Linked DNA regions of Homo sapiens: region 2 is linked to region 1. Evidence: promoter capture Hi-C in 16 types of primary human blood cells and fetal thymus (Javierre and others, 2016). All regions are on one chromosome and are shown on one strand. Each heading gives the region's core, a stretch centred on a gene start or on the middle of the fragment in contact. The rest is flanking DNA. Distances are from core to core; before and after follow the strand shown.

The links. The method cuts DNA at HindIII sites, captures the fragments that hold promoters and counts their contacts. A CHiCAGO score of 5 or more calls a contact.
Region 2: a fragment that was not itself captured here is called in contact with the fragment with the promoter of RASD2 in region 1 in 7 of 17 cell types (M2 macrophages, naive CD4 T cells, M1 macrophages and 4 more); the score reaches 7.4 in M2 macrophages.

The regions. Positions count from the first base shown.
Region 1 is chr22:35,538,050-35,544,309 of GRCh38, forward strand. RASD2 (RASD family member 2) reads left to right here and starts at 2,782. Exons shown (of 3, transcript NM_014310.4): 1 at 2,782-3,451. RefSeq lists enhancers at 1,444-2,006, 2,007-2,569, 2,570-3,132 and a silencer at 2,254-2,473. The HindIII fragment of the contact is 7,504 bases long and covers 459-6,260 here.
Region 2 is chr22:36,097,403-36,103,286 of GRCh38, forward strand. No RefSeq gene overlaps it. Among named protein-coding and RNA genes, the nearest start is that of APOL3, 60 kb to the right of the region's middle. The HindIII fragment of the contact is 1,984 bases long and covers 2,618-4,601 here.

The sequences.
Region 1 (6,260 bases), core at 1,532-4,031:
ATTCTCATGTCCCAGCCTCCCGAGTAGCTGGAATTATAGGCGCACACCACCACGCCTGGGTAGTTTTTATATTTTTAGTATAAAATTATTATATTTTATATTTTTAGTAGTAGGGTTTTGCTATGTTGGCCAGGCTGGTCTCAAACTATTGGCCTCAAGTGATCCTCCCATCTTGGCCTCCCAAAGTGCTGGGATTATAGGCGTGAGCCACCACACCCAGCCCAAGATTTTATATCTTAAGCAATGGGGAGCCCTTGAAAACTCTTGAGCAGGAGGTGGCAGTTTTAGAACAGGGCTAAAATGGTCACAGGTTATATGGGAGAGAGAGGGTGACAGGGAGCCCAGGGACGAAGGGGGCAGCTATGACAAAGGGTCTGATGAGGGATGATAAAGCAAGTGGGTGGGGAGGGGGGAAGGGGAAAATAGGCACATGTGAGAAGTGTGCTGTTGCTACACAAAGCTTCCTTGGGCATCAGTTGATCCCTTATGTGTATTTGCTTATTGACTGAGCCCTACCATACCAGGAGTGGGGGAGGGCAGGAGCAGAAGACAGAGGCTGGGGCAAGTGGACCTCCCAGGGTTCTCACTCCACATGCAGCTCCCCTCGCGACTGGGATATGGTCAGTGGGACATGACCCATTCTGTTGAACAACTCTGCAGAAGCAGGGAGCAATTGGTTCTTGGGCCGTCTGCTACATTTCCGTGATGGAGGTGGCAGAGCTGGCCCAGCGACCTGAGTCTTCCTGACCCCAGCCTTCCAGGTGAAGCGTGCCACCCTGCTCACCTCCCACTGCCAAGTTCACTGCCAGCTCAAGGCTCACAGCCTGTGTGTGTCATGCCCAGCACAAACCCTCCCGGGCTGAAGCCAGTTCCCAGAGGCAAAGTCTGGATGTGGAAAATGCACCAGGCTGCAATCCTGCCACTTGCCACCAGGTGACTTTGGGCACATCCCCTTAGCCCCTCTGTGGCCTAAATTGGGGCATTAAACACAATCAGGTAGTACAGGTACTGCACCCTCCACCCCCACCTGCCCCATCCTCTCTGGTTAACTTTCCTGGAGAATCTCAAGATGTTACAGAGACAAGCAAAGCAAGTCACTTTCCATATTCAAAGTCCCAGGCCATTTTAGTACTTCTGTCATTCTGTGGACCCATCAATATCATACCCATTTTAGAGATGGCACAACCAGGACCCAGAGACTTTTCATGACGGCCCAGGGTCAGATATCTAGGTAGTTACGGAGACAGGACTTGAACGCCAGTCTCTCAGCCAATGGAGCTGACCCCTCAGGTGCCCTCCCAGACCCCTGCGTCCTCTCATGAGGTAGGGAGGCCAGATCTGGGTTGGGGGTGAGGCTGGCAGACATCCCTGAGGTCCAGGGATCTGGAACTGAGGGACACAGACACAGCATCCCATCCCTTTGCTGTATCACACAACGAGAACATTCTCTTTTAAGCCTCCTGATATGTGAAGGAGAAAGTCTCTGTTAGGTGCTAATGGGTATTTAACACCTCTCCAAACCTTGCCAATCTCCCTTTTTCACTGAGGGCACACATCTCAAGCCTTGGCAGGCCACGGTTTCCAGCTGGAATTTAATAACCTTGCTTTGTTTTCACTGTGCTTATTTTAACTCTTACTTTCTATTTATGGCAAGTGATACTGATTTCCCATTTAAGGCAGTGATATAATGATTCTCTAAAAAAACGTGTTTAAGGGGTGGGGAAAGTGGATCTGATATTTTAAAAAATATATTAAGTAATAAGTGGTGTGGAGATATGGCCCAGTGAGAAGGCCCGATGTCTGGCCTAGGTCAAGCCCCTCATTTAAAGGTGGGGAGGGAGAATGCAGGCAGGAGACGCAATGCTCAAGGCACCTGGTGTGTCCCCGTCGGCCGTGGTCTCTGAGACTCGCATGCCTCGAAGACCTCTGGCTACTAAGCCTAGGTGACTCCCCGCCCCTCTGGGCGACACGTGCATGGCCCATGTGCCAGTCCGCAGGGTCCCGTGGGCACCGTGAGCTCGGGAGGGAGGCGGCGGCTGGGACAGGCAGGTTGGACACCTGGGAGGGCACCCGGGGACTTCCGCGAAGGAGGAGGGCGCTGGAACCGTGGCGCGCTCGACCTGGCCGGGCGCAAGCCGCTGGAGACCCCGGCCGAGTGGGCAGGCGGCCGGACCCCATGCGGGTCACCTGCGGCCAGGCCGGGCGTGCGTGTGAGCGCGTGCGCAGACGTCAGCCTCCGAGGCCCGGGCCGCCTTCTGGGCAAGGTGCGCGCGCCCAGCGGCCCCGGCCCCACGCGCCCGGACACGCGGAACCGCAGACCGCGGCGCCCCGGAGGCCGCGAAAGGGATGGGCGGGGCCGGGCCGCGGGACCCGCCTCCCATTGGCCGGGCGCCGGGGCGAGGCGGGGCGCCGGGGTGGGGCGGGGCGAGCGGGCTCTGGGGGGCAGACGCTGGCGCTGGGCGGCGGGAGGCGCGGCTCGCGGGGGGCCGAAGGAGCAGGTGGGCGACGCTCGCAGGGGCGCGGGAGGGTGCCGCTGGGACCGTCATCAGGAGCCTGGGGTTCTGCCACCTTTCGGAGGGATCAGCGACCTCTTCGCCCTGCGGGTGACAGTGGGGCATCTGCCTGCGAGAGGGGGAAGGAGGGAGAACCCAGGGCCACACACAAAGTTCTCCTCATCTGGGGACAGGAGGAGGTGAAGGAGGAGGAGCCGGGTTGATGCTAACTTGGAGCTGCGAAACCTTGGGGCGGCGTTCAAGGCCCCCTCCCACACGCGCGCAGAGCAGAGCGCCCTGCTCCTCCTTCAGCTGCTGGCGTCGCCGCGCGGGGAGAAAGAAGCCGTCCCTCCGGCGCTGGGAGAGCTGCAGAGCCGCGGGCAGAGAAGGAGGCCGCGGCCGAGCCCGGCAGCCCGATACCCCCCATCCGAGCGACCCCCTTTGGGGCAGGCGGAGAAGGTGGCATAGGCGACCAGGAGGGTTCGCCCACCTGGGACACGCACCCACAGTCACCTCCAAAGGACCCCCCCTCCCCAAGTCTCTAGGAGCTGCTCCTTCATCACTGGAGTCGCCCCTACCTCTCTGCCCCCAGCCCGAGAGCCCCAGGCGGGGACCCCCGGATCGGACGTCCCCAAGCCTCCGGGCACCTGGCTCAGCAGGAGGCCCCCGGCTCGGGGCAGGGCAGGGCCGGCGGCGGCGAGCCGGAGCCCGCCCCCTGCCCGGGCCCCGCCGAGCCCTCGGAGCCCACCCATGGGGCACCTGCCCCTTGCGCCTCCTTGCCCGGCCGCGCCCAGCCCGGCGTCCCGAGCAGCGCAGGGGAGGATCCCCGCGCAGTGACCCGGGAGCCACCACAGACTCTGGGAGGCTCGGCGGCTGGAGCAGCAGGCAGCTCCCCGCAGCTCCCGGCGCTTCCAGGCAGCTCTCTGAGCCGTGCCAGAGGCCCGGCCCGCCATTCCCAGGTAGGAGACGCCCCAACAGAGCTGGGCATCTGGGGGAAGTGGAGCAGCCGGGAAGAAAGGGTAGAGGCTTGGAGGAGGAAAGCTCAGTGATTCCTTAGATGACCAGAGAAAGTGAAATTGATTGAGCACCTACTATGTGCCGGGATCGTCTGGCAACTTTGCATACCTAGAGAGAATTAAATTCGTTGAGCACCTACTGTATGTGTCAAACTGAGTGCTATACCCTTGACTTAATCCCAGGAAAGAAAGATTTATTGAGCTTCTACTATGTGCTAGTTTTGGTGCCACAGGCTTTGCATTTAAAGAGCTAGAGTAATAGCCCATTTAAATAGGAGGAAACGGGGGCTCAGGGAAGACGAGTCAACTACCACAAACACTCCTGTCCCTCTTCTGGAGCTGGCTGCAGCCTGCATTACCTGGAGGTGGGGAAGGAAGATTAAGAAGCTCCTTCGTTATCCAGAGTTCTTGAGCTTTTTCTGGGTTGGTGCAGAGTGAGTTTCCTGGATGATTCCCTTCCCAGGAGGGGTTTCCTGTAACTTAGCTGTCTTGGAGGGCCCGGAAGGCAGCTCTGGAGGCCTCTCTGTGCCCTCCCCTCCCCTTGTCCCCAGCACCAGGAGGATGACAGGGGATGTTGTCCAAGACCTCATGGAAGGTGGGAAGCCAGGCTGGGAGGGAGCAGCCAGGTCAGGAGCCAGTGAATCAAGCCTCCTGTGGTGTCAGAGACAAGATGGGGTCCCTGCAAGACCTGCGCCTGCATTCCAGTCCAGCCTCACCAGGCTGCTCTAGGCAGCCCCACGACTGCCAAGATAAAGTGCCACGAAGAAAAGAACCCAGCATGTGTTCAGGTTTGCTGCGGGTCAAGAGCTGGGTCAGCCTCCAGACTTATTGGAAACCCAGGGCCACACAGGGGGTTTATGTCTTACCATTAACAGAGGAATAACCTGAGCCCCAGGAAGCCAAGTCATTTGCCCAGGGCTGCCGGGCTGGTGAGAGGCAGAGTTGGCCTGCCAGAAGTGGATGCCTGCCTACCTTCTACCACCTGAGCTGCCAAGGGTGGTGGGGTTGGCTTTGCCAAGCTCCCGGACTCTCAGAGTGGCAGCTGGAAGCCAGTGATGGCAATGTGCGTGTCCAAAGAGGCTGAGTGTGCACTGATGGAGGAGGCATGGGGGTGTGGAGGAGGGGCAGTGCAGTGAAACAGGCTCTGGGGCATACACCGGGAGGACACGTCCAGACTCTTGTCCTGCTGCCTGTGCCCGTGTGACCCCTTCATCTTTCAGGCAGGCCCTGGGAGAGAGGCTCAAGGGAGAAGTGGTGAATCCACAGGTGCACTTGCTCAGAGGTGGCTGGCAGGGTTAGGGGAGAATCCTGGGAGGTGCCTGCCCCCTTTCCGCTCCGCTGCCTGCAGGGAGAGAGGGAGTGAGAATATAGTATGTCTCGGCGTCATCCCCCCGCCTGATGCCAGCTGAGGCTTCACTGAGACAGACAGTGTTTTGGAAAAGACCAGTTTTGGCTGGGGGTGGGTTTTCATAGAGTTAAGAGCCCAGACTTTGAAGCCAAACAGCCTGGTTCTGATCCCAGCCCAGCTAGTCATCTGCTGTGTGAACTGGGGCAAGTGACTTAACCTCTCTGAGCATCAGTGTCCCCATCAGTCAAGTGGGCTGATGGATGCCTTCCTGGCTGTGGTTACTGTGCCCCCAGGATGGCGTCCCCTCATCTCTGCTCTGGGAACTTTCTGGCTTCCACCTGTCCTCAGAATGGCCCTGTGATGGGGTCAGTAGTCACAGTATGTGCATTCAGATACCTGTGCCGCTAGGGGGTCTCCGTTGAATTTCCTGCCTCTCTGAGCCTCCTCTCTCTGATTCCTTACTTCCCCTCTCTGATTCCCTGCCTCCTCTCTCTGACTTCCTGAAATCCATTCAGTCACTGATATTGGACTCTAAATTCCCAAAGGGCTCTTCAAACTCATCCCTGTCTGCTCCTCGCTGTATGAGGTCAGCCTGGCTGAGGATGGAGAAGGGAGAACAGGCTGCAGAGGAGAGATGTGCCTACGAGGGTGCCCATGGTGCCACCTCTGGGGGAAGAGAGGGAAGAAAGATGTGGAGGCAGGAGGCGGAGCCCACAGAGGCACTGTCCCCTGGCGTCCAGGTGTCCAGATGTCTCACACAGCCCCACGTGGCTCAGGCCATGTGAAGAATCAGTCTTCTCTCAGAGATAAAAACCACAGAGGATTTTTTTTCTCTTTTTCCCCACCCTGATTCCCTGTCTCTTATTTCTGACTCCTTGCCTCCTCTATCTGTCACCTTGCCTCCTCTCTCTGACTCTTTGCCTCCTCTCTGACTCCCTGCCTCCTCTCTCTGTCTCCCTGCCTCCTCTGTCTGACTCCCTGCCTCCCCTCTCTGTCTCACTGCCTCCTCTCTCTGACTCTCTGCCTCCTCTCTCTGACTCCCTGCCTCCTCTCTCTGATTCCCTGCCTCTTTGACCCTCTGCCTCCTCTCTTTGACTCCCTGCCTCCTCTCTCCGATTCTCTGCGTCTTTGACTCCCTGCCTCCTCTCTCTGACTCCCTGAAGCTCATTCAGTCATTGCTATCAACTCGTCTGTACCAAGCTCTAGGCTGGAGGCTGGGCAGGGCAATGATGGAGACAAATACTGTCCCTGGGAGCTTCTGGCCCCTTTCCCATCCTGTTTAGACAGAAGTGACCGCCAGCAGAGTCAAGCTGTCTGCAGAAGGACTTGGGGAGGGGGCTGTCATGGGGTAGGGCTTCTTTCCCCCCATCTCTGCTGAAGGCCCAGGCTGGCTGAGACAGCCCC
Region 2 (5,884 bases), core at 2,360-4,859, 560 kb after region 1:
TGTTGATCAGGTGGGTCTCGAATTCCTGACCTCAAGCCCTCCACCTGCCTCGAACTCCCAAAGTCCTTGGATTACAGGCTTTCCACCTGCCTCGGCAGCCACTGCACCCAGCCCACTACTCTGCTTTCTGTCTCTAGGTATTTGGCTATTCCAGTATACCGCATGTAAGTAGAATCATACAACAAATATTGTGTATGTTTCCTTTTCTATCTGTTTCTTTCACTTAGCATGATGCCTTCAGGGTTCATCCGTGATAATATATCATGTATCAGAATTTCATTCCTTTTGTAGGTTGAATAATATTCTATTGTATAGATATAAACATTTTGATTATCCATTTATCAATTGGCGGGCATTTGGGTTGTTTCCACTTCTTTGGCTATTACAAATAATGGTGCTTTCAAAATTCAAGTTCAAGTTTTTGTGTGGATATATGGTTTGATTTCTCACTAGTTTATACCTGGGCATGAAATGGCTAAGTCATATGGTAACTCTATTCAACATTTGGAGGAACTGCCAAACTCCTTTCTAAAATGGATGTATCATTTTGCATTCACACCAACAATGTAAGAAGATTACAATGTCTCCACATCCTTGCCAATATTGTCTTTTTTTTTTTTCTAATGGGTGTGAAGTATTACCTCATTTCAGTTTGGATGTACATTTCCCTAGTGACTAATGACGTGGAGCACCTTTCCATGTGTTTATTGTCCATTTACTAGCATACTATTTTTAATTCCCTTTGTGTGTGTGTGTGGGTGTGTGTGTGTGTGCGTGCACGCAATATTTAAGATCCTTTTCACCGGGCGTGGTAGCTCACTCCTGTAATCCCAGCATTTTGAGAGACCGAGGTGGGCGGATCACCTGAGGTCGGGAGGTCAAGACCAGCCTGACCAACGTGGAGAAACTCCGTCTCTACTAAAAATACAAAATTAGCCGGGTGTGGTGACGCATGTCTGTAATCCTAGCTACTCTGGGGGCTGAGGCAGGAGAATCACTTGAACCCGGGAGGCGGAGGTTGCGGTGAGCTGAGATCGCACCATTGCACTCCATCCTGGGCAACAAGAGTGAAACTCCATCTCAAATATAATATATGTATCCTTTTTATTTTCTTTTCATTCTTTTCTTTTTTTTTAAGACCGAGTCTTGCTCTGTCACCCAGGCCAGAGTGCAGTGGCATCATCTCGGCTCACTGCAAACTCCGCCTTCCAGGTTCAAGTGATTCTCCTGCCTCAGCCTCTGGAGTAGCTGGGCCCACACGCGCCCACCACCACGCCCGGCTAATTTTGTATTTTTAGTAGAGACGGGATTTCTCCATGTTGGCCAGGCTGGTCTTGAACTGCTGACCTCAGGTGATCCTCCTGCCTCAGCCTCCCAAAGTGCTGGGATTATAGACATGAGCCTCTGTGCCCAGCCTGCCTTTTTTTTTTTTTTTTTTTTTTTTGAGATAGGATCTCACTATGTCACCCAGGCTGGAGTGCAGTGGCATGATCTCCGGCTTACTGCAACCTCCTGGGCTCAAGCAATCCTCCCACCTCAGCCTCCAGACTAGCTGGGACCACAGCTGTGCACCATCAAACCTGGCTAATTTTTTGTATTTTTTTGTAACAACAGGGTTTTGCCATGTTGCCCAGGCTGGTCTGGAATTCCTGGCTCAAGTGATCTGCCTGTCTTAGTTTCCCAAAGTGCTGGGATTACAGGTGTGAGCCATTGTGCCAGCCAAGATCACTTTTTAATGGTTGCTTCGAGGATTATAATTAACATCTTAATGTAAAGCTATCTAGTTGAGATAAGTACTAACTTAATTTTAATAGTATATATAAATGTTTGTTCCACTGTGGTTGTTTTTTATCTCTTCCTTTGTGTTGGTATTATACAAATTACATTTTTATGTATTGTAAGACTATCAATACAGTTTTATAATTATTGTTTTAGGAAAATGTCTTTTAAGTCAGATAATAGGAGAAAAGAATTACAAACAAAAGACCTATGTACTGTCTTTCTTCTGTATTTACCTATGTAGTTACTTGTACTAGTTTTCTTAGTTTCTTCAAGTGAATTGTGTCTTGTGTTTCTGTTTTGAGTCCTTTTATTTCAGCACCAAGGACTTCCTTTAATATTTCTTTTTTTTGAGACGGAGTCTTGCTCTGTCTCCCAGGCTGGAGTTCAGTCGTATGATCTCAGCTCACTGCCAACTCCACCTCCTGGGTTCAAGCGATTCTCCTGTCTCAGCCTCTCAAGTAGCTGGGATTACAGGCATGCGCTACCACACCCGGCTAATTTTTGTATTTTTAGTAGAGAGAGATTTCTCCATGTAGATCATACTGGTCTCGAACTCCCGACCTCAGGTGATCTGCCTGCCTCGGCCTCCCAAAGTGCCGGGATCACAGGCATGAGCCACCACGCCCGGCCCCTTGTTTTCTTTAGTTCTTTGAATGTTTTTATAATATCTGATTTAAAACTGACAGTGACTCTAACATCTGGGCTTCTTCAGGAAGCCTCTTGTCCTTCCAGGTATGAGCTATACTTTCTTATTTGTTCATGCATTTTTGTTGGAAACGGGACATTTAATATAATATAATGGGACAACACTGGAAACCAGATTGCCCCCTTCCTAAGCTTTGTTGTTATTGTGATTGCTGTCTGTTGTTGTTGTTGCTGTTTGTTTAGTGGCTTCCCGGGACGAATTCTGTAAGATCTGTATTCTTTGTGATATACGGCCCCTGAAGTTTCTGCTAGGTAGTTAACCTAGCTACTAGACGTGGTCAGCTAATGATTACATAGATTTCCTTAAATGCTACAAGCCAGTAAGTCTCCTATCATTTGTTGAAGGGCTGTCTATTGTGTATGGAGGGTGTGACTTCAATGTTCCAGCAGGCACTCTAGAACTCTGCCTTAGCAGGCTGGGCACGTCCAGCTGTACATTTTTAATACATTAAACCACTTAGCTGTCATTGACTTAATTTCCTTTCAAGGAAATGGGTAATGCAAACGTGGCTTGAAGGCAGGACCTCTGTCTTATTATCTCTGTATTAACAGGGTCTAGGATAGTGGCTGGTACAAAAAAAATCATTAAAAGTTCCGATGAATAACTACAGATCTTATGTTTGAATTGTGCTTTGCAATTTATAAAGTGCTTTCTCATGATTTTATTCCACAGAGTGTAATTTAATTCAGCAACCTTTCCTGTCCATTAACTACATGCCAGTCACTGTGTCGAATGTCAAGGATAGAAAGATAAATAAGAAAAAGGCTTGCTCTGGAAGGTATTTTCAGTCTACTTGGCGGCACGAGATGCATGCATTAACAAGACAAATAATAGTATGGATATAAGTTCCATGCGAGAGGGCACCATATCGGCCTTGGACCACATTATACTGCAGAGTCTACAAGAATATCTGATACCTAGAAGATGTCTGTGGGTTATTAAACAGGAACACAAATTATTTTACACTCTTTCTTTTGAGAGGTAGGGTCTATTTTCCTTCCCTTTAGATTGGATGGTGATCTGGTTTGGCTGTGTCCCCTCCAAATCTCATCTTGAATTGTGGTTCCCATAATCCCCTTGTGGGAAGGACCCAGTGGGAGGTAATTGAATCATGGGGGTGGGTTTTTCTCATGCTGTTCTCATGACAGTGAATAAGTCTCATGAGATCTGGTGGTTTTATAAAGGGCAGTTCCCCTGCTGCACATGCTGTCTTGCCTGCTGCCATGTAAGATGTGCCTTTGCTCCTCCTTCGCCTTCTGCCATGATTGTGAGGCCTCTGCAGCTATGTGGAACTGTGAGGCCATTAAACCTCTTTTTTTTTTTTTTTGAGATGGAATCTCGCTCTGTCGCCGAGGCTGGAGTGCAGTGGAGTGATCTCAGCTCACTGCAACCTCTGCCTCCCAGGTTCAAGCAATTCTCCTGCCTCAGCCTCCCAAGTGGCTGGGACTACAGGTGTGTGCCACCACACCCAGCTAATTTTTTAGAGACAGTGTTTCACCGTGTTAGCCAGGATGGTCTTGATCTCCTGACCTTGTGATCCGCCTGCCTTGACCTCCCAAAGTGCTGGGATTACAGTCGTGAGCCACCGTGCCCAGCCTAAACTTCTTTTTCTTTATAAATTACCCAGTCTTGAGTATGTCTTTTTTTTTTTTTTTTTTTTTGAGACAGAGTCTCGCTCTGTCTCCCAGTCTGGAGTACAGTGGCATGATCTTGGCTCACTGCAACCTCCGCCTGCTGGGTTCAAGAGATCCTCCTGCCTCAGCCTCCCGAGTAGCTGGGATTACAGGCACCCACCACCATGCCTGGCTACTTTTTTGTATTTTTAGTAGAGATGGGGTTTCACCATGTTGGCCAGGCTGGTCTGGAACTCCTGACCTCAGGTGATCCATCCACTTTGCCCTCCCAAAGTGCAGGGATTATAGGTGTGAGCCACCATCCGGGGCCAAGTATGTCTTTATTAGCAGTGTCAGAATGAACTAATACGGATGGGCCTTGTGACTGCTTTGGTTACTGGAATACAGCATAAGTGATGCTGTATTGGTTTCAAGGTTCAAGTCTTAAGAGACCATCTGTTTCCATTTTTGGTTTCTTGGAACATTCAATCTTGAAACTAAGCTTCCTTGCCAGAAGGAAACTCAAGTATCTTTGAGGAGAAGTCCACATGGAGAGGAACTGAGGTGCCTAGTAGATAGTCCCAGCCAACAGCGTACCTCAACTCACCAGTCATGTGAGTAAACCATCCTAAAAGTGGGTATTCCGGTCCCAGTTAGGCCACCCCAGCTGACACTGCACAGAGCAGAGATGTGCTGCCCCGTGGAGCCCTGACAAAATTGTAATTTCAGAAATAAAATAAATGGCTATTATTATTTCAAGCCACTGAGTTTTAGGGTGGAGTTTAAAACAGCACTAGATGGTCACAACCATGTTGAATAAATATTTGTTGACTGCCTATGATTGTTGGTAATCTGTGCTTTTTGGAGGGATGGGGTAACACACATTATCCCATTTAATCTTCTCAACAATTCTGTTGATGAACCAACTTGCCCAAGATCATACAGCTAGTAAGTGGTAGAGGTGGGATTAGAACTCAGATCTTTCTGATGTCAGAACTAGATTTCCATCTCTATTTTCACTATGCCATGTCACCTGTCCCTAAAGAACTAGAATCCTGAGTAGCTGGGATTATAGGCATGTGCCACCATGCCCAGCTAATTTTTGTGTTTTTGGTAGAGACGGGGTTTCCCATGTTGGCCAGGCTGGTCTCGAACTCCTGACCTCAGGTGATCCGCCCATCTCAACCTCCCAAAGTACCGGGATTACAGACATGAGCCACTGCGCCTGGCCAACATCGCCTCTCAGCTGGGAGGTCATCTGGGCTGCATATGGCCTCTCCATATATCTCTTCACATGGGTGAATTTGGGCTTCTTCGGAGCATGGTGGCTCTGTGAGTGTCCCAAGAGAGCAAGGTGGAAATACATGGCATTTTTATAACCCAGAAGTCAGAAACCTCAGAAGTCACAGTTTTTCTTCTGCCATGAGGCAGTCATGAATAACTTCCCTGGCTCAAGCAGAGAAGAAGACATAGATTAAATGGTAGATATTGTGGTAGCCATTATTGGTAAATATGACCTGCTACAATGCATCTCATCGACACATTCTAAGAAAATACAAACCTCACATCCAGATCTTTCCTGTGGGTTCTTGCTAGAATGTCAGGGTGGGCAGTTGTGATGGGGGTTAAATTTGTAACACTCAGCAACACTTCTTTAAGTTATCTTTCTTGGGGGTTGGATGGACATGGTTGGCTGAGCACATGCTTTTACTACTACTTTCATTTCCAGTCCCTAGCAATGACAGAAAAGAAATATTTAAAAATATAGACTCATAATAGGGCT